Regions from separate parts of the Homo sapiens genome. Here all the other regions are linked to region 3. Evidence: promoter capture Hi-C in 16 types of primary human blood cells and fetal thymus (Javierre and others, 2016). All regions are on one chromosome and are shown on one strand. Each heading gives the region's core, a stretch centred on a gene start or on the middle of the fragment in contact. The rest is flanking DNA. Distances are from core to core; before and after follow the strand shown.

Evidence for each region. The method cuts DNA at HindIII sites, captures the fragments that hold promoters and counts their contacts. A CHiCAGO score of 5 or more calls a contact.
Region 1: a contact is called between a fragment that was not itself captured here and the fragment with the promoter of DUSP5 in region 3, in 7 of 17 cell types (neutrophils, activated CD4 T cells, monocytes and 4 more). The highest score is 12.5, in neutrophils.
Region 2: a contact is called between a fragment that was not itself captured here and the fragment with the promoter of DUSP5 in region 3, in 5 of 17 cell types (neutrophils, monocytes, M2 macrophages and 2 more). The highest score is 16.6, in neutrophils.
Region 4: a contact is called between a fragment that was not itself captured here and the fragment with the promoter of DUSP5 in region 3, in 5 of 17 cell types (M0 macrophages, naive B cells, non-activated CD4 T cells and 2 more). The highest score is 6.8, in M0 macrophages.
Region 5: a fragment that was not itself captured here is called in contact with the fragment with the promoter of DUSP5 in region 3 in 3 of 17 cell types (activated CD4 T cells, monocytes and total B cells); the score reaches 11.2 in activated CD4 T cells.
Region 6: a contact is called between a fragment that was not itself captured here and the fragment with the promoter of DUSP5 in region 3, in 14 of 17 cell types (activated CD4 T cells, fetal thymus, neutrophils and 11 more). The highest score is 13.5, in activated CD4 T cells.
Region 7: a fragment that was not itself captured here is called in contact with the fragment with the promoter of DUSP5 in region 3 in 7 of 17 cell types (activated CD4 T cells, naive CD4 T cells, total CD4 T cells and 4 more); the score reaches 8.0 in activated CD4 T cells.

The regions. Positions count from the first base shown.
Region 1 is chr10:110,023,858-110,026,611 of GRCh38, reverse strand. The region is part of intron 1 of ADD3 (adducin 3); the gene reads right to left. Among named protein-coding and RNA genes, the nearest start is that of ADD3-AS1, 17 kb to the right of the region's middle. The HindIII fragment of the contact is 8,514 bases long and covers 1-2,754 here.
Region 2 is chr10:109,985,883-109,988,761 of GRCh38, reverse strand. All of the region lies in intron 2 of ADD3-AS1 (ADD3 antisense RNA 1), which reads left to right. Among named protein-coding and RNA genes, the nearest start is that of ADD3, 21 kb to the left of the region's middle. RefSeq lists an enhancer at 916-1,417. The HindIII fragment of the contact is 9,885 bases long and covers 1-2,879 here.
Region 3 is chr10:110,496,580-110,499,483 of GRCh38, reverse strand. It overlaps DUSP5 (dual specificity phosphatase 5), which reads right to left and starts at 1,577. Exons shown (of 4, transcript NM_004419.4): 1 at 984-1,577. The coding sequence starts at 1,362. RefSeq lists silencers at 851-1,120, 1,241-1,300, 1,371-1,510, 1,521-2,050 and an enhancer at 2,532-2,904. The HindIII fragment of the contact is 7,811 bases long and covers 1-2,904 here.
Region 4 is chr10:110,961,924-110,964,658 of GRCh38, reverse strand. It overlaps SHOC2 (SHOC2 leucine rich repeat scaffold protein), which reads right to left. Exons shown (of 9, transcript NM_007373.4): 2 at 1-534. The coding sequence starts at 300. Among named protein-coding and RNA genes, the nearest start is that of MIR548E, 26 kb to the left of the region's middle. The HindIII fragment of the contact is 885 bases long and covers 816-1,700 here.
Region 5 is chr10:110,062,809-110,065,558 of GRCh38, reverse strand. The region is part of intron 1 of ADD3 (adducin 3); the gene reads right to left. Among named protein-coding and RNA genes, the nearest start is that of ADD3-AS1, 56 kb to the right of the region's middle. The HindIII fragment of the contact is 7,149 bases long and covers 1-2,750 here.
Region 6 is chr10:110,004,817-110,007,519 of GRCh38, reverse strand. It overlaps ADD3-AS1 (ADD3 antisense RNA 1), which reads left to right. Exons shown (of 5, transcript NR_038943.1): 2 at 1,439-1,563. It also overlaps a transcript of ADD3 not described here. Among named protein-coding and RNA genes, the nearest start is that of ADD3, 1.8 kb to the left of the region's middle. RefSeq lists enhancers at 1-335, 336-891. The HindIII fragment of the contact is 252 bases long and covers 1,136-1,387 here.
Region 7 is chr10:110,991,393-110,994,092 of GRCh38, reverse strand. All of the region lies in intron 3 of SHOC2 (SHOC2 leucine rich repeat scaffold protein), which reads right to left. Among named protein-coding and RNA genes, the nearest start is that of MIR548E, 3.8 kb to the right of the region's middle. The HindIII fragment of the contact is 826 bases long and covers 861-1,686 here.

The DNA of each region.
Region 1 (2,754 bases), core at 19-2,518, 470 kb after region 3:
GGTCCTATTAAAACTGACTTAAAAGTACAATCAGCCGGGTGTGGTGGCTCACGTCTGTAATCCCAGCACTTTGGGAGGCCGAGGTGGGCGGATCACCTGAGGTCGGGAGTTCAAGACCAGCCTGACCAACATGGAGACACCCCATCTCTACTAAAAATACAAAATTAGCCAGGCGTGGTGGCACGTGCCTGTAATCCCAGCTACTCAGGAGGCTGAGGCAGGAGAATTGCTTGAACCGGGAGGCTGAGGTTGCAGTGAGCCGAGATCACGCCACTGCACTCTAGCCTGGGCAACAAGAGTGAAACTCCGTTTCAAAAAAAAAAAAAAAACAAGAAAACTGGGGTCATAAGTTCTATAATCTATTTCACTCAAATGACCTAAAACTATTCCTTTTCATTGGAGGGGTGGAACTGTTTCTCATTTAAATACATTCCTTTCCAAAAGAAAAAGGAATGTCAAGGCAGCCAAATACATCCATTCTGAATTTTCTATATAATGTTCCTAAACATGTCAGAAACATTTACCATGTACATGACTTGCTTCAGTGGTGAGCACACTAAAATTGGAACAATATACATAATATCAGTGTGGCTTCTATTAAGAAAACAAGAAAGATCCTGACACATTACAGATTTTGGAAAAAACTTCACAAAACTTTCCCAAATTCGATGAAATTTTTTTTTTCTTTTTTAAGGAAAAGGGAAAAACAGATATCTTGAAAAGAAGCCTCAAATCTGAGAGATTGGGGTCTCTCATCCTGTCCAAACCCTGCTCTAGGGAAGGTCAGGTGGAATTCTGACAAAACCCCTTACCCCAGAATTGCATGAATGGAGTTAAGATGGCTCGTAATGTAATGAAGTGAAAAAAGCACTGGACAGAGGCAGGAATCTCAGTTTTGAGTCTAGATCTGCCACAAGCAACATGTTGCCTTAAACACGGAACTTCCTTTAATCAGACTGGGTTCTTCACTCTTAAAATGAAGTAAGGTTTCCACAATTCTATGAATCTAGATTTTATCACCCTCTCTATTTCTATTTGCTTCTCCTTTAAAGTATACAGAGAATTCCTACGTCTACTCATATAACAGAAAGTCTGATTTTACACAAAGGCATAATTTTAGCATCTGAAGAAACTTGCAAGCCTAGAGACCCCTTACTTCTATTAACTAGGGGACTTGCTTTTAATTGAACCATGGAGGCAGAAGTTGGCTACCACCACTCTGAAGATTCCCATCTCTCCCACAAATATCGAACTAAAATTAAAAAAATATTAAATTAAATTAGTATTATTAAATTTAAAAAGTATTATTTATACTATAGTATGAGTGAAAGATTATTATAGCTACCACCTCCCACTTTCTATACCTCTGCCTTAGTGGAACGGACGCTAGGAAAGGAAACGTTTTAATAAAATGACAGCCAGGTGCGGTGGCTCACACCTGTAATCCCAGCACTTTGGGAGGCCGAGGTGGGTGGATCACTTGAGGCCAGGAGTTTAAGAGCAGCCTGGCCAACATGGCAAAACCCCGACGCTATTAAAAATACAAAAAAATTAGCCAGGCATGGTGGCGCACGCCTGTAACTCCAGCTATTCAGGAGGCTGAGGCACAAGAACCCACTTGAACCCAATGCACTCCTGCCTGGGTGATGGAGTGAGACTCTGTCTCCAAAAAAAAAAAAAAGAAAAGAGGAGGAAACTTGAGTGGTTTGGGGGTGACAACTTACTTTTCACTGTATACGCTTTTGTGCCTTATTTTGTTCCATGTCCTTATATTTCTTACTCAAAATTTCAAGTATTTAAAAAATAAATGGATTTTATAAAAATTTGATTCAAATAGTAAGTTTAACTTTGAAACCAATAAAATCATTCTTGCTTTTAAAAAACTGAGTGCTTTTCACTGATTTTCATTTTACTAAGAATTACTTTTGAGTAAGTTATTTTAAACATCTAACACTTAAAAATTTTAAGCATGAAAATTTTACATTGAAATAATCTAGAAGTTAGTTCTGTCAAATTCAGTGTTTTCTCCCACCCATTTATAAAATCACTATGTCCCAATATAAAGCCCTGTGTTAAATATCTTATTACAAGGAGCTACAAACAAAAATGGTCAACTGTGCATGCAACAAAGCTACTAGAGGAGCCAAATCATCTTGTTTCACCATTCAAATGTGCAAAAAGTCTTACTGGATTGGATTCTCCACTAAATTCACATAGCAAAAATAATTCTGCATGTGATTTTTTTTGGCAATAATTTATTATAGGTGCTTACGCTATGTTTACTTTTGAAGTTTCAAGATAAACCACCATATGTTATTAAGGGGAAACCAAGATGGCACAATGACTTCCTGTAATGACAACATGCAATACCTGATATTGCAAAGCCCAATGCCTTCAATTCTTTTGTTATTCCATTGCACAAAAGTTCTGTTTATAATTTCAACTTTTATTTTAGATTCAGGGTGTACCTCTGCAGGCTTATTACACGGGTATATTGTGTGATGCTGAGGTTTGGGGTACAATTGATCCTATCACCCAGGAAGTAAGCATTGTGCTGGACAGTTTTTCAGCCCTTATCCCCTCCCTCTCTTCTGCCTCTAGTAGTCCCCAGTGTCGACTGTTCTGTCTTTATGTCCACGTGTACCCAATGTTTACCTCCCACTTTAAGTGAGAACATGTGGTATTTGGTTTTCTGTTCCTGTGTTAATTTGCTTGGGATAATGCAATGCACAAAAGTTTAAAATTAAATGCAAA
Region 2 (2,879 bases), core at 83-2,582, 510 kb after region 3:
GTATCTGGCTTCTTTCACTCATGTTTATAAGTGAAATGGAATGTCCTTGCCCATGGTTATAGATTGTTGCCACCTAAGTTTTAAGCAAGGGAGTAGTGTGGGCTGACCTCTGGGTTAGAAAAGCTACTTTAGCAGCTTCGAGGAGGGTAGAATAGAAAGACAAGAAGACCCATGGAAGGAGCTAGGGAAATAATCCACACAAGAGATGATGAGGACTGACCCAGAGCCCAAGCAGTGGGGGTAGAGAAGGGGTGGAAAGATCAGAGCTCTGGAGAAGCAATTCAAAACATGTGTTCCATTTACAGTGTCCTTCAAACACAGAGGAGAACACTCAGCTGAATGCTCAGAACCCAAGCAACATTAATTGACCACAGCATTAGTTTGGGTGCTTTTCAAGATTTAAATGAAACAAGCTACATCTCTCTGAGAGTCTATTGTCATAGATGACCGGGATGAGACAGAAGAAGCTAACACAATGTGGATGAATGACAGGGTCCCTTGAGACTTTAATGACCTCAAGTGATGTTGGAAGAGTTTTGTAGCTGATTTCTTTTTCTTACATATATTTTGAGTAGCAGAGTGTCAACATAAAATTTAGATTGGTAAGGAAAACAACACCAGGATTGAAGAGAAAACAGGGGTAGGTAAGAGTTTTAGCAGAAAGTTGAGAGGGATGAGGCTGTGAGTGGGTGTGTAGTACAGACAGAGGGGAGATGGCTGGTGAAGCATGAAGTGAGAACTCATTCTGCATCTATCTTAATCTCACGCTTCTCAAACTTGGGTGTATATATCTCTGAAAGCATGTCAGGAGGAACTAGAGCCACCCAATAAATATAGTACATTTTCTTGGAATGTTCATTTTATGCTAGGACTGAGGAGAAAGATTCCATTTATTTGGAAACAAACAATGTGTTATGGAGTAGAATGCAAACTTCATGTGAAGTTTTAAGTTAAAACATAAGACTTTAAGTATATTTCTAGCAAATGCTTTTTTGGCCTTCAGCCCCAATGCCTCCCTTGTGATTAGGTAAAATCCAGAAGAAAAGTTTTGCAAAATCTCATCTCCGTCACTTTTGACTCCATGCTCCACTCTATGCTGCTAGGACCTACACTGAGCTCTTTTCCAGACTGTGGTGTTACTCATTCAGCAACATTCCTTCCTTTCTTTACTCACTCATTCCAAACATGTTAAGTAAGGGCCTGCCCTATTGTAGGACCTGGGAGATAGTTTTCTCCTGTACAATACTGTAAGTTCCAGAAAGGACTGTGCCTTAAAAGAAAACATTTAGAATCCCTACAGCGTTTGTCAAAACTTGCACATATTAAATGTTTTATAAATATTTGTTGACATAAAATGAAATGGGATATTTGCCAAATCTTTGCAAAAACTCAGAGAGGAATTAGGAGAGGGACAATAAAGAGGAGAGAAAGGTATGAATATATGTGAACTGCTAACCATTTTGAACTAAACATATTGTTTAATCCTTGAACAACTCTGAGATATAATCTATATCCATTTTACAGCCAAGGAAACTGAGGCTGAGAAAGAATAAAGTAACATGTTTGAAGCAACACAGCTAGTATCAGAGTACAGATTCAATCCCAGCTTTGTCTGGTACTAAGGTCCATGGAGGATATCTATAAAAATGTAAAATGCATGTGTCTTTTGACCCAGTAACTCTAGGAATTTATCGTCTAAATACAATCAAATAAGTGCTTAAAGATACAAACACAAGGATGCTCATTTTGGTGCTAATTGCTAATTGTACCACCACACCCAGCTAATTTTTGTGTTTTTAGTAGTGAAGAGGTTTCACCATGTCGACCAGCCTGGTCTCGAATGCCTGATCTCAAGTGATCCACCCAACTTGGCCTCCCAAAGTGCTGGGATTACAGGGGCGAGCCACCACTCCCAGCCAAAGTCAACTTAAACATAAGTATATATTACTTTTATAATAAAAAGCAAACAAGTTAATAAAATTAAATGAAAATAAAGCCTGCACTTAGATTTAAGTCCTTGATCTATCTTGAGTTGATTTTTATATAAGGTAAGAGATGAGGATCCAGTTTCATTCTCCTACAGGTGGCTTGCCAATTATCCAAGCACCATTTGTTGAATAGTGTGTCCTTTCCCCACTTTATGTTTTTGTTTGCTTTGTCAAAGATCAGTTAGCTGTAGGTATTTGGCTTTATTTCTTGGTTCTCTATTCTGTTCCATTGGTCTATGTGCCTATTTTTATACCAGTACTATGCTGTTTTGGTGACTGTGGCCTTATCGTATAGTTTGAAATCAGGTAATGTGATGCCTCTAGATTTGTTCTTTTTCCTTAGTCTTGCTTTGGCTATGCAGGCTCTTTTTTAGTTCCACATGAATTTTAAGATTTTTTTTCTAGTTCTGTGAAGAATGATAGTGGTATTTTGATGAGAATTGCATTGAATTTGTAGATTGCTTTTGGCAGTATGGTCATTATCACAATATTTATTTTACCCATCCATAAGCATGAGATGTTGATCCATTTGTTTGTGTCATCTATGATTTCTTTTAGCAGTATTTTGTAGTTTTCCTTGTATAGGCCTTTCACCTCCTTGGTTAGGTATATTCCTAAGTATTTAATTTTTTTGCAGCTATTGTAAAAGGAGTTGAGATCTTGATTTCTCAGCTTGGTTGCTTTTGCCTGAAACTATACAAACTCTAGAAGATAACATCAGAAAAAACTTTCTAGATATTGGCTTAGGCAAGGATTTCATGACCAAGAGCTCAAAAGCAAATGCAATAAAAACAAAGATAAATAGCTGGGACTTAATTTAAAGAGCTTTGCACGGCAAAAGGAACAGTCAGCAAAGTAAACAGACAACCCACAGAGTGGGAGAAAATCTTC
Region 3 (2,904 bases), core at 328-2,827:
CTGGCACGGCCTTGGGGCCCTGCTGGGGCTAAACCCTCATCTCTACATGTGGGTCAGGTCTCCCCGGGTGTCATTTGAGGTTACAAAGGACTCAAACACAAAGCAGGAGCAGTCATAGGAAGTAACCCAGAAAAAACCAATGCTTTGGATTTTGAGAGTCAATCACCCACCCACCACCAGAAGCCAAAGTTATCTTCCCGGCAGGTGAAATGGGCAGGCCTGTGGCGGTAGCTCCGGGAGGTGTCAAATCAAAGGCCGCAGAATCTCCATACCACCCTGCCCCCGCGCACCTCTATTTCGTGGCTGGCTGGCTGTAGGCTCAGCTCAGGATGGGTCCCAGGGATAATCCTGGGGCGGAGGAAGGAGGAGGTGAAAAGGGTGGAAAGGATGTGAGCTCCAAACTGAGCTAGAGAAAAGACCTAGGAGGGGAGAAGAGGCCGGAGGGAAACAATAAAAAGCAATAAAATGAAATGGAAAGGGAAGGGACTCGCCAGGTCAAAAAGGCAAGGGGGTCGGTGAAGACCACAGCTGGCTAGGCGGGAGGAAGGGGGGCACCACGGCGCCACACCAAGGGAGAGTGGATCGCGACCTGCTGATCCCGCCAGATCAGTCTATCAGGAAGGCCCCGAGCCCTGACCCCAGCGACAGCGGCGAAGCTCGCGTCTGGAAAGGGGGCTCGTGCCCGGCACGAGCCGACGGCCCCCAAACTGCTAAACAGCAGCAGCCCCCGCAGCATAACCAACTCCACCCAGACCACCGGGCAGACCCGCTGCCGGGCGCTTTCGAGGAACGCGGGTGGGGAAGAGGGGGAGCTCTGAGTGCTGACATTTGCAGTGCCCTCCCAAGCGCACAACAAGCCACAGGGTGCAGACTCCTGCAGGTGGTGACTCTCCCGGTCCCAGGGTGTAGGAGGGCGCCCCGGCGCAGGGAGGGGACCCGGGGGCGCCGGAGGGGCGAGCGTGGCAGGGACCCCGAGCGCTCACCTTTGAGGAAGTAGACCCGCGGGCCGGCGGGTAGGCAAGCGAGTAGCGAGGTGAGGACGACACGCGCGGCGCTCTCCTCTCGCAGCTTCTGCCAGTGGCGGCTGCCCTGGTCCAGCACCACCACGGCCGCGACGCCGCCGCCGCCCTCCTGCAGGAGCCGCGCGCGCGCCGCCTCGTCGGGCAGCACGTAGCGCGCCGACACCGCGCCGCCCCGGGCCCGCCGCAGCACCACCGAGTTGAGGTTGACGTTGAGCGAGCCGCGCACGTTCGAGGCAGCGAAGGCCAGATAGGGCCGGCAGTCGAGCACCACGCAGCGCGCCGCCGCCTCCTTGCGGAGCATCTTGCGCAGCTGGCGCCCGTCGAGCGACGTGACCTTCATGCCGCCGCCGCCGCCGGCCAGCGGCCCCGCGCCGCGCGCCCCGCGGGTGCCCACGGCCAGGGTGTCCACGGCCAGGGTGTCCGCGGGCGAGGCACGGGAGGGCGACCCGCGGGGCTGCGGCCGCGACGGAGCCCGGCGCCCGAGCGGCGGCGCAACTCCGCGTTCCCGCCCCGCTCGCTCGATAGCCAGCCCGGCCGCTCGCCGCCCTAGAAGCCGGGGATTCCGCCGGCCGCGCAGCGTTTTATGTGAATGAGTGCCGTCCGTGACGCGGCTGCCCATATAAGGCCAAATATGGGTGTTTCCCCGCCCCTCGGGCCGTGGCCACGCCCTGCAGGGGGCGGGGCAGCGGGGGCGAGGGACGCGCGGGGCGGGTGCCGGCGTTAGAGCGAGAGGAAGTGGAAGGCGCCTCTTCGTTCTCTCTTCCGCGCTTCGCTGAGGGACTCACTCGCGCATCACCCGCGGCTGCCGGTCGAGTGTCCCAGGCGCTCCGGGGCCGCGGTGACCCTCGCGGTGCGGACCGAGGAGGAAGCGCCGTGGGGGGCGGGGCGGCGCCGCACGATCCGGCCTTCAGCTTCACGGACGTGGGCTGAGAACCCGCCCGCGCCGCGCTGAGCAGGGCCGAGGGAGCCGGCCAGGGCCCCAGAGGAGTCCGGAACGGATTCCCGTCGCTACCGAGGTCTGCGCGTGTAAGGAGAGGACGTCGGAGATTTGCCTCGAGGGGTGGGGTATAGATGACTGGAGAGGTCAGGCGCGGGTTGGTCATCGCTGAGGCTGGGTGATGGGTGGCCGGATTCGTTATACTGTTTTCTCCACTTTTCTGTATGTTTGATATTTTTCATAATAAAGTTTGTAAAAGTAAAAACGGGGGTTGGGGGTCGGCGGTGAGAATAGCCATTTAATCTTCCTAAATGGATTCTGCCCTCAAAGGATTGACGCTCTTTTCTCTGTCACTCTCCAATAATGATTAGAATAATAAGTTGTATTTTGAGGAGCTGTTTTCTGGTCCCGGGGAGACCCTTGGTGAACTCAGCAGTACCATCAGCATGTATCCCACGATGGAGCTCAGTTCAGCCAACTGTTGTCCAGGTGGCTTCTGGATTTGGGGGATTATCTATGGATCAAGTTTAATCTCAGGCTGTCTGCCCCCACCGGTCCCCAGGGGCTTCAGGCCTCCCACCCCTATTCCTGGGGAAGCAGACACAATTCACCCATTCAGCAAGCATTTATTGAGGGTCAGCCGTGTGCCAGGGCTTTGCTAGCTGCGGGGACACATGGATGGAAACAGGTTTCTGCCCCCAAGCTCACTGCCAACCATTTTATTGTTAGCCTGGCTGGGACTGCTTGATGGAAAACAGTCTGCCCGCACTAGACAAGGGCTTGTTGACAACTGACATAAGGGAATGAGGTTTTCAGAAGGAAGCAGAGATCAAATTTTGAAATCAGATGCAATCAAATCAGACACCAGGACAGCCAGCATTGCCTCTGGGTCACAGATGCATCCACCCAAAGGCGCTGTCCTCGCCTTGCCAGTGGGGTCTTGGT
Region 4 (2,735 bases), core at 9-2,508, 470 kb before region 3:
CTCTTCCCGGCATTTGTTGAGCTCTTTAATCACCTCTGCATTGCTGGATTTTTTTCTAGTCCCAGGTGCTGGGTTTGGCCGTTTGATCGTATTGTCAACTGAAAATGCCACCCCTGGTTGGGCAGCACTGGAGTCCTTCTTTCCATCTTTGGCATCTTTCCCTTTGGTCTTAGGTTCTTTTTCTTTGCTCTCTTTCCCAAAACCTCCAGAGGCTTTTGCCTCCTTTTCTCTTTCCTTGGCTGATGGTACTTTGGGATCTTTTTCTTTAGAGTCTTTTTCTTTTCCTAAACTACTACTCATGGTGACTCAAGCCTGGACAAAAACTACATGAACTCCTTTTATTTTCCAGTAATTGAATTCAAAGATGAAGAGACAAAGATCCTACACAATCAAAAAAGTACTGGCTTGAAGAAGTAATCAGCATGGAGTAACATCCATCTGTTACATGTTGGATCTAAAAGCACTATGCCCATTTCTGATCATTCATTCCAACTGGTAAAATAGTGCTGGTCAATCAATGATTCATTAGAGTTCCTGAAATATAATATAGACAGTATTAAATTACTTTAGATAATTTATATTAAATAGGCTCTGAAAAACAATCTTATTAGAGTTTGCCATTTTCCTATGATTTCATTCTCAAATATTTATGAACATCCTTTATAGGTAAAAATCCATTTAAAACTACACAGCTTAATAAGGCTGGCTCTACCTTCAAGAAACTTGCAATCTAATAGGAAGATGTATGAATGTAAGTTACTTTACTAGAAAATTTTATAAGACCTAAAAAGTGGAAGAAACCACAACAATAAGCTTAATATTTATTAAGTGCTTTCTATGTACTAGCATTATTCTGAGGAATTCACATGTATTAATATAACACATACAACAGCCCTATGAGATACATTGTTATCCCCATTTTATACAAAGAAACACTAAAGCACAGAAATATTTTTAAGTAACTAACTCTGAGATCTTGGAAACATGATGGAGCCAATATTCCAAATTAGGTAGTATGTGCTCACAGCCTATGTTCCTAACCCACTACACTAAAACAGTTCTAGCTACAATTAATTGGCGGATAGCTTTAGATAACAGAAAGGATTTCAGTGGTGGTGACGATAGAAGAGAGAGCAGTCTGGCAAAAGAAAAAAAAAGAACAAAGTGAAATATGTATGAAAAACAGCACAGTTCAGGGAAAGGGGCATTAATAATCTGTACTTTAATAAGCACTCTACATGATTCTGATGGAGGTAGACCTGAGGATCACCTTTGAAAACCAGTGACAAAGGGCAATGTCCAATGATGTGTATATTCTAGGGACTGAAAAAGAAAGATCAATGGCACAGGGTTCTTAAAAGCAGAAAAAGTCTGCTGGTAAAATGACAGGCCGAAAAGATTGGCAAAGGACAAAAAGATTAGTAAAATATTTATGGAAGGAATCAGTCCTCCCTAAACATTTTGAAATTTAAAATTAGTAATTCTTATTTTATGACTCTATTGTTAACTCTATTTAACTAACTGGTAATTATTTGGTACTAGGGATTAAAGATAAAATAACTTCTTACCTGACTAGCTTAAGAGGTTAAAACAGTTATTAGAATTTTGTCAGACTACCAAAAGGATGTGATAATGTTAAGTGCTAAGGATTCTGCTAATAATTTATTTTTATAGGATGTGAACCTCTCTGTATACAAGCTTGTAGTTTAATTAGACAGCCAAAACACTCACATATAACAAGTAATTGATAAGACAGCATATTATTAAATCCTCAGGCAAGTGGCATATGCTATAGCACTTTTGAGAAAATTTGTAACAGTGAGAATGGTTGAGAAAAGCATACAGGACTTAGGCTAACTAGTCCTGGATTAATGGGTTGTGTTCAAGCAAGTAAAGGAGAGATGGCAAAGCATTACAGGTGGGTGGCATGAAAAAGAAAGTTTTGCCTAGAATAGGGAGTGGAGCTTAGTTTGCACGGGACACTGAAAATGTGTCACTTTGCTGAAGCAAATGGTCAAATGTGCAGAAATAACAGGAACTGGGGTAGAGGATGAATAATCTGTAAATTTGAAACTGCACAGTATGAACTTTACTGGTATATAAGATTCTACAATTAAACAAATACATCATTATTTGCTAGCACACCAGGAGAGCTCTATCTATTACTATTCAACCCTTTCAAAAAAAAAGAAAAAAATTATTTTGCACTGCGATGGAGAGAGACTAAGAAAAACTCTAGAGATACTGATTCAGAAAATAATGCTGATAAGCCAATATGAAAGTACATTTACTAAAACCATACAACTGAATAATGGGAAATATGCATAGCTAAAGGGTTACAGGCATTGCTTATCAATTTGTATTTAAGAAATGTCATTATATCAAGTTTCTGGAAATCAAATTTCTATTTAGCAAGATATGTATACCCTAAATTTAGAAGGACACCTCCTATATAAGGATCAAATGAAATATATAAGGTGTAAAATCACATATATTAAGTACAGAGGATAGAACAAGATTACCCCTATTAAAAGGTAAGAAAACTTGGAAAGAAATAAAAAGTAAACTTTTCTAATGATAAAAACGAAAAAAGAAAATACGTGACCTGAGATATTTGTTTAAAAATACAAATTCCCAGGCTCCATCACAAATCACTGAATCAAAATTTTAGGGAGAGGGGGTCTAGGTATTTTATAAAAATAAACGCCTCAACAAAAGCTTATCAAGTTCGGGAA
Region 5 (2,750 bases), core at 160-2,659, 430 kb after region 3:
CAAAAAAAAAAAAAAAAAAGGGGAGAGAGAGAGGCTAAGAAAAAATGAGAGAGAGAGAGAGAGAGAGAGACAGACAGAGACAGACACACACTAAGAGACTTTAGTAAAGTCCAACATACCAAAGTTCCTGAAGAGGAAATAGATCAGAGGAGATATTCAAGGAAATCATGGCTAGAGACTTTTTGCAGAGTGGTCCAGGGACAGACTGCCTACAAAGGACTGACAATTAAACCTGCAACAGACTTCAAAAGAAGACTAAATAAAAGCAATGAGACAAAGAAATATATTCAAATTGCTGTGACAAGATGTCAGTCTAGGAATTGTATATCTAACAAAACTATCTTTGGAGAATAAGAGTAAAATAAAACACTGTCTCACTAAAAAGTTTTATGAACTTACTAAAGGAACTTTTAAAGGACAAATTCTAGGAAGAAAGAAATTAAAACTGGAAGGGCAGGCTGGGATGGAAGAAACAACAGTGAGTAAAGAAATTTGTAATTTTTTTTTTCTTTTCTGAAACAGGGTCTCGCTCTGTCGCCTAGACAAGATCTCAGCTCACTGCAACCTCTGCTTCCCAGGTTCAAGCGATCCTCCCACTTCAGCCTCCTGCATAGCTAGGACTACAGGTGCGTGCCACCACCCCTGGCTAATTTTTGTATTTTTTGTAGAGATAAGGTTTTGCCATGTTGCCCAGGCTGGGAAACATGCAGTTTTAAAAATACTGTATAAAAAAATAGCAATAACAAATGCAGGTGGTTAAAAACAAGGTGAACTAATACCCTGGTTAATAATAGCATATAAGATAAGAATAGAAAATAAGAGTGTTTTAAGATCCTTGTATTGTTCAGAAAAAGGGAAGAGACAGCTATTAACTTTGGATTTTAAGAATGGATGTTAACATTTTAAGGGTATCTGAAAAAAGATAATCCAGAATATATCTTTTTAGACCACTGATATCAATAATAAAAAGAAAAATAACCCAATTTTTCTATTAGTAAAAGACGTGAACAGCACTTTGCAAAAGCACATCCAAAAACCCAGTATGTACATTAAGAAGTGCCCATCATCATTAGTTATAAGGGAAATAAAAATTAAAGCCACAGTGAGATACCACTATCTACCTACCAGTGTGGCTAAAATGAAAACAGAAACAAAAAACTTAATATCAAGTACTGGCAAGGATGTGGAACATCTGGAACTCAGAGTTGGTATGTCAATTAGTACAAATACTTTGGGAAACTGGCCTTACCTGCAAAAGTTGGAGACACACATGCCCTGTAAGCCAGCCACTCCTCTCCCAGAAATACACTCAAAAGAGCTGCATGGATATGAACAACAAAAACCATACAACAAGGATGTTCATGGCAGAATTATTTTTAATAGATGCAAACTGGAAACAATCTGAATGACCATTATCTAAATGAATTATTTTATGTTCATAAAATGGAATACAGTACATACAATAAAGAGAATGAATTACTGTTACATTTAACAACACAGACAAATCCCACAGGAAAAAAAATGCTGGGCAAAAGAAGCTGGAGACAAAAGAGTAGATATTGAATGATTCCATGTATATAAAATCCTGAAACAGGCAACACTACTCTATGGTATTCAAAACTAAACTTTGAATTTAGAATATGGTATGTTCAAAACTAAATTATGTCAGGATTATGGCTGCCTTGCAGAGAGAGGAGAAATGCCTGAGAACCCAGAGCAGGGTGTTGCTAGCATTCTAGTTCTTGACTTAGGTAGGTTACACACGGTGTTCACTTTATATATATATATATATATATATATATATATATATATATATATATAATGAATATATATATTCATATTCATCAAGCTGTACTGTTATGATTTCTGTACTTTTCTATATATATGTTAAACTTGCATTTAAAAGTTTATCTGAAAAAATTAAGTGATTTAAAAGAAAGAAAAGCCTCCCCTCTTTCTATAGCAAGAATTTATAACTTGATGCCATTTTTTCTGTTGGTTAGCTTAGCTCTCTGGAGACACTGTTAAATCCTCTTTCTCACAAAACCAAAGCATTTTCGTATCCAATTTCTTATAAGAAGTAATCTAAGTTCTCCTATATGAGCTCTATATATACTCCTATACAAAATGTAAGTGATCCATGTAATATCAACTACTTAGCAAGGAGGCATAATAAATAAAGAAATTCAAGAAAATTTAGGTCTGAAATCAGTACACTACTTAACTCCGCTTCTCCACCTCAACAATATAATGGATTTAAATACATAGTGCAGCATAAATTATCACAATGTTCAATCACTGTGGCCAACAGCAGTGTTACAGTATTAATGCATTCTGTTGTCTGAATTCAACAGCTTCTCCCATCTTCAGCTCCTGATGCCATTTTTCAGTGATAAGAAACATTAACAACACATTCACAAAACACTTAAAATCTAAATTAGGCCTTCTAGTCGTTAAAAAAAATGAAGACATTGTTCGAAACTAAATTATGCAAAATGAAAACAAAAACCTGCATGTAACCACTAACCCACAACAAATAATTAAGAATTATTTTTTCCCTTAATCACAATCTTTCTGCTGGGGAGAGATAATCAGAACAGATCCCGAAATATCTGTTCAAGACTAACACATTTCAGGGTTACACAATCTTGCCCTATCCAATCTTGTCCTAAGAGAATTTTCTGAATTCTCAGTGTAATAGAAATTTTATATCCATATTATGCTACTTTTGCCTAATACTGTTTTATCTC
Region 6 (2,703 bases), core at 12-2,511, 490 kb after region 3:
TCGGAAATGTCTCCCGCCCTAAATGAGCGAGCCCCCTACTCCTACTCCCGAGGCTGAGCCGCCGCTTTGAGTCAGCCTCGGCCGCCCACGCTGGCTGCTGGGGCTGTAGGAGGCCACTGCAAAGGTTCAACCTCCGCACGCCCCCCGTGGGGCCTGGACTTTGCTCTCAGCACAGCTGCCTTCGCGGGCGCCTAGTCCCCACAACCCCTGCTTCACCTCCACATAGGGGGAGGACAGGGGCTCTCGCTTCTGCTTCATTTGGACCCCTCGAGAGTCTTCACTCCCGCTTTGGCTCCCGGCCTCTGAACCTTATGAGAGCTCACTTCTTTGAGGCGAAAAGTCGAGGCATCGCCAAGAACCTTCAAAATGAATGCGGGGCCGGGCAAACTTTGCAACACGCAATTGCAGGGCTGTGGATCCATCCACAGGTGACACCGGGCCTCCCACCCCCCTCGCCCAGACATGTTTCTCATCCCAACCTATTCTTGAAATAGACCTCCCAGCGGTGCACACTTTTCTCTGCCACCCACGACTTCCACGTCCCTCCTGCACCAGTACACTTGCAAGCACACCCCTCCGAGCGCCATTCTAATGATTCATGGTCCCTTGGGCCAACCCCACCCTAACACACACAACAAACTTCGTTCCCCACCCTTATCCCCCTTCGTTTCCAAGGCACTGGCGACAATCCACTTCATTTCCTTTCCTCATCTGCAGACTCGTCCCCCTCAAATACCTCACGCCATCCGCCTCATCTTCATCCCCCCCCTCCTCCCTAAAAATGTGCTAATTAAAATGTAGTTTCCTCTTCCCACATATGAAGTGTGGAAAATGAATCTTGTCTTGACACAAACTGTGATGCATTTATCGTTTTCTCTCTCCACTGGACTAAGGCTGTAGAAATTTTAGTCTACCACCATCTCCCATTTGCTCAAAAAATCCAACCATGCCTTATTATTTTTAAATACTCTTAACGAATCGTGGGGAAGGCTGCCTAGTTTGAGGAAGAAAATTGTTTAGAAAATGCTCAGCCTGACATTTTATTTGGTATTTAAAAATATCTGCAGTATTTGAGAGAGATATTGGGAGTGGCTGGATATTTTCTTGCATTTAAAAAGCAAAAAAATGAAAAGCTTTGCATGCATCAAGGTTAGCCTTTTTATGAATAGCAAAAAAAGTATCCTAAGGGCACCTATCAGAATATAGTCCTCACTATATTTTGCTAGTCGCAAATCTGGACACCCCCACCACCACCAAAGGAAGACAAATTAACATAATCCATTTTAAGCATGTCTGATGAACAGTCTTTTCCATGATCATTCCTTTTCTCACAGTTTCTGGACAAAATAGCTAGATAGATCTCCTTACCCACCGAAGATCCAAAGCTTCCTTCTAACAAGGGTAGTAGACGTACGTGTCTGTGTCTTCTGTTCTCTAGGTGTGGATTCTGCAATGCTGCACAGAAACCTACTGCAGCCTCAGACCAACAGCAGCAGCAGCAGCGGCGGCGGCGGCAGCAGCAGCAGCAGCATTAGCAGCAGCAGCTTCTCTCAATGCTGAGTAGTAAGTGTTTGACTTAGTAAACTCTACAATTACCATTAGGCGCTTGCTTATGAGAGGAGGCGGAATCTTTCTTAAAGGAATGGGTTTTGTTTTTCCTCTCTAGTATTGCTTCATAAGAGGCAGAGAGGATGGAATCAGGGAGTTTTGTGGACTGAGTAAATGAGTACAGCTGTGGGAGGTCAAGGTTAAAATTAACTGGGTGGTTGAGGAATGGAGGCAATGATTTTAGTGTAAGTCAATGAAATGCTAGAAGCACCAGTTTTAAAGAGCCCTGCTAATTTCAAACATTGGGGTAATGGCAAAATAAAGTTGTATGCCTTGAAACTGATTAGTAATTTGTGCTAATATTTAATTTAATTTAATATTTGTGCTAATATTCAACATCGTACTAAAATAATAACTATATAAAGGAAAGCTATTTAGTATTTAATATAAGAATAAAAAGAAAAATGAATTAAAACTCGTTTATGTGACTAGAAGCAATGGATTCAAGTCCTACCTATAAGCATACTTGGAACTTCAGTGAATACCAGTATTAGAAAATATATTGTTGACAGGTTTCAATGTGTGCTCATGTGATATAAAAAATCACAATATTGCCGGGCGTGGTGGCTCACGCCTGTAATCCCAGCACTTTGGGAGGCTGAGGCAGGTAGATCACGAGGTCAGGAGTTCAAGACCAGCCTGGCCAAGATGGTGAAATCCCGTCTCTACTAAAAATACAAAAATTAGCCGGGCGTGGTGGCAGGCGCCTGTAATCCCAGCTACTTAGGAGGCTGAGGCAGAGAATTGCTTGAACCCGGGAGGCGGAGCTTGCAGTGAGCCAAGATCGCGCCACTGCACTCCAGCCTGGGTGACAGAGCAAGACTCCATCTCAAAAAAAAATAAAATAAAATTACAGTATTATGTATAGAAAAAACAAAATATATCTAAAATAATTTTTGGATAATAGCACAGTATTAATGCTATTTCAGTGGCAATTCAAAGGTCAGCAAAATTAAGAAACACAAGTGGATTGACTGACTCTAAGTGCATATGAATCTGCTATTTACACTATTAAAATGTGTCGTGTCCACCTGAGAATCTGCATTATAACCTTACATTTTATCTTTATATTACTTGATTTAAGCACTTACCAGT
Region 7 (2,700 bases), core at 24-2,523, 490 kb before region 3:
TCCCTTTTTCTCCTTTACATCACTGCTTTCCCTATGGAAGAAAGTTGATCCATTGTAACAAAATGGCTGAATCTTTCACCAAGGGGTCTTTGAAGTCTGCCATAAGAGGGGAGAATTTATTAACAGAGAGAAGTCTCCATGATCTTACTCCATCAACTGACATGCCTCATTCAATAACCCTTTACAGTATCATGGTAGATAAATACAATATTTTAAATGTTTTTTATTCTCACTGAAAACTAAAAAACTTTCTGTGGTAACAAAGGTTAGTAGGGGAACCAAATTCTAAATGTTTGTCAACTCAAAAGCCTAGTAAATAGAACCAGATTCTTGAAATTTCTCATCCAAAACCAAATAACTCTTAAGTTTCTCACTTTTAAAACCAGAGTAGGTTCCTAGAATTTAAAAATTACAAAATAAAAATAATGTAGCCAAATTGCTACATGACATTATCTAGTACCAAAACCAGTAGTAATTTAAATTAAAAGGTACCTCCACCTTTCTTGGATCTAAATTTTTTGCTTTTTGCTGGGGCGGAAGGGGTTGAATTTCTAACAATGTAATCTATGAGAATAGGCTGTTCTGATGAAGAAATCTCACATTTGCAAAGGCCCTATCACTTGAGACCACTGGCAAATTCAAAGAGTCATCCACATTTTGCCAAAGTCCATTACTCTCAGCTAAATAAAAAAGGTTAAAAAAATTAAGGATGAAATATCAAAACTCTTTTACGCCAGAAGAAAACATCAGAAGTCTGGCATTTATTGTGATTCACCCTCTGCAGTGGTTTCAGCTCTAACCCCTCTCAATGAGTGGTTTTAACCACAAACTAAACTGCAACCTAGAAATCAACACAAGCTTGCTTTAATGTTGAGCCATCTTGACTAAGAAATAAAATCATTGTTGCTGAGCTCCTGTATATAAACGTAGGCTGATCACTGCCAATCACTGGCATTTAGCTTTCAAGTGCTTAACTTTGTCTACAAATTGTTCTGTGCTCCACTTTGACAGCTTGCTTTCTCTTACGCTGTCAGATTTTTAAAATATGGTGAAATCAAATGGCTATGAATTAAAATTAGATTCTTTCAATTTCAGCAAATATAACCAGCAACTTTAGTTTAATTTAGTATAACTTTCGAGTAAGACTAATTTAAATGATCATAATCTTATTTTAACAAAGTAGCAAAAAAAATAGTAGGAAAGACTCAGGGTTGGAAGGATGAAATGTCAAAGGTACCATTATTTTTTCAGAAACATTAAACTGAAAGCAAACTGAAAAGTAAGCAACACAGAAATTCCTGAATGTTAAAAACCCAAAGAACACCACCATTAAAAAGAAAACTAGTAAAGTTGTTATACATACGCTGCACTGTAATTACCTAAAACCCAATTACTAAAATGACTAAAATGCTACTTGTTGATATAACCATAATTAATGTAACATTTCTTCAGAGCCCAGTGCAACAAAAAGGCTTCTGTGAATTGTTCTGCACTCCAGCCTTGAAGGCAAGGTTTTGTGGCACAGTTCTCTCCTAATCTCATTTTGAGAAGAAATACAAAGTAAAGTATTTTTTCCTACTTCGGACTGTTTCTTCCCTGGATTACATAAAACTACCAGAGGTACCAGAAGGCTTTAAAAAACATCAGGTTCATACTTTAAAACAAAATAACTGTTGGAATAAAGCTTAATATTTTCTTCTGTTCATAGCTAATTTCTGAATGAGAAAATATTCATATAAAATAATACTTTTTTTATTCAACAAGGCAGACTAACAGTTAAATCAGAGAAACTATAAATATGTATTTAAGCACTCTCTTACTTAACTGCAACTTGGTAATCCCCAACCCATTTCCTTCTGTCTCTTCCTCACATCCTATGAGTTGTCAGCGATACTAGCTTCTCAGCCTGGAAGTAAATGGCAGTAATTATCACAGGGGAGTGATAGTTACTCCAGGAATGTTCATGTTAAATAAAGAAAAAAGTAAAAAACATTCTGGTCTACTTATAAGAAAAAAGAAAAAAAGGAAAAGGCAAGTAAATACAGTGATTTCTGGGAAGTGATTTTAAGACAATACAAGATTTGATTTTCAGTTACAAGTTTAGGGCAAGATTCTTTAGTCCAAGGAAAAGAGAGTGGGCAGCTGCTTCCAGACTAGCATCAACTCTGCAGAACAGGTGTTGGGCTTTCTGTTTGTTTTTCATTTTAAGTTATACTTTCTCAGAACTAGAGTAGGATTTAAAAAAGGAGAAGTATCAGGAGAACCATAATTCAATTAAGTTTCCACTACTTAGGGTAAATTCTTCATCTTCAATAAATGAGAGTGAAAATCTCAAAGGTCAATTAAAACTGTTGAAATTTTTAACAGACCAAGACCCAAACGTCAAAGTTTCCCACCAAACCTCAATCTTCTGCTACATCATCAAAATACTAGGACTGGAAAGGATGGAGAAAGATAAAGTAATTATTTTAATAAACATGGTAATCGATAAATGACTACAATATCATAAAAAGTTTCAATAAATATTACTAATTTACTTTGCCATTTACTCAGAGTAACAGCTGTACTATACTTGGTGACAACCATCAAAGCATATAAAAGTAAATGCAATGTTATTTAAAATTTTCTTGTTGTTAATGTTTCAGTTCTCATTGATTTCCAATTTGTAATACTGTAATCTGGCCCTATAGAATAAGCTAG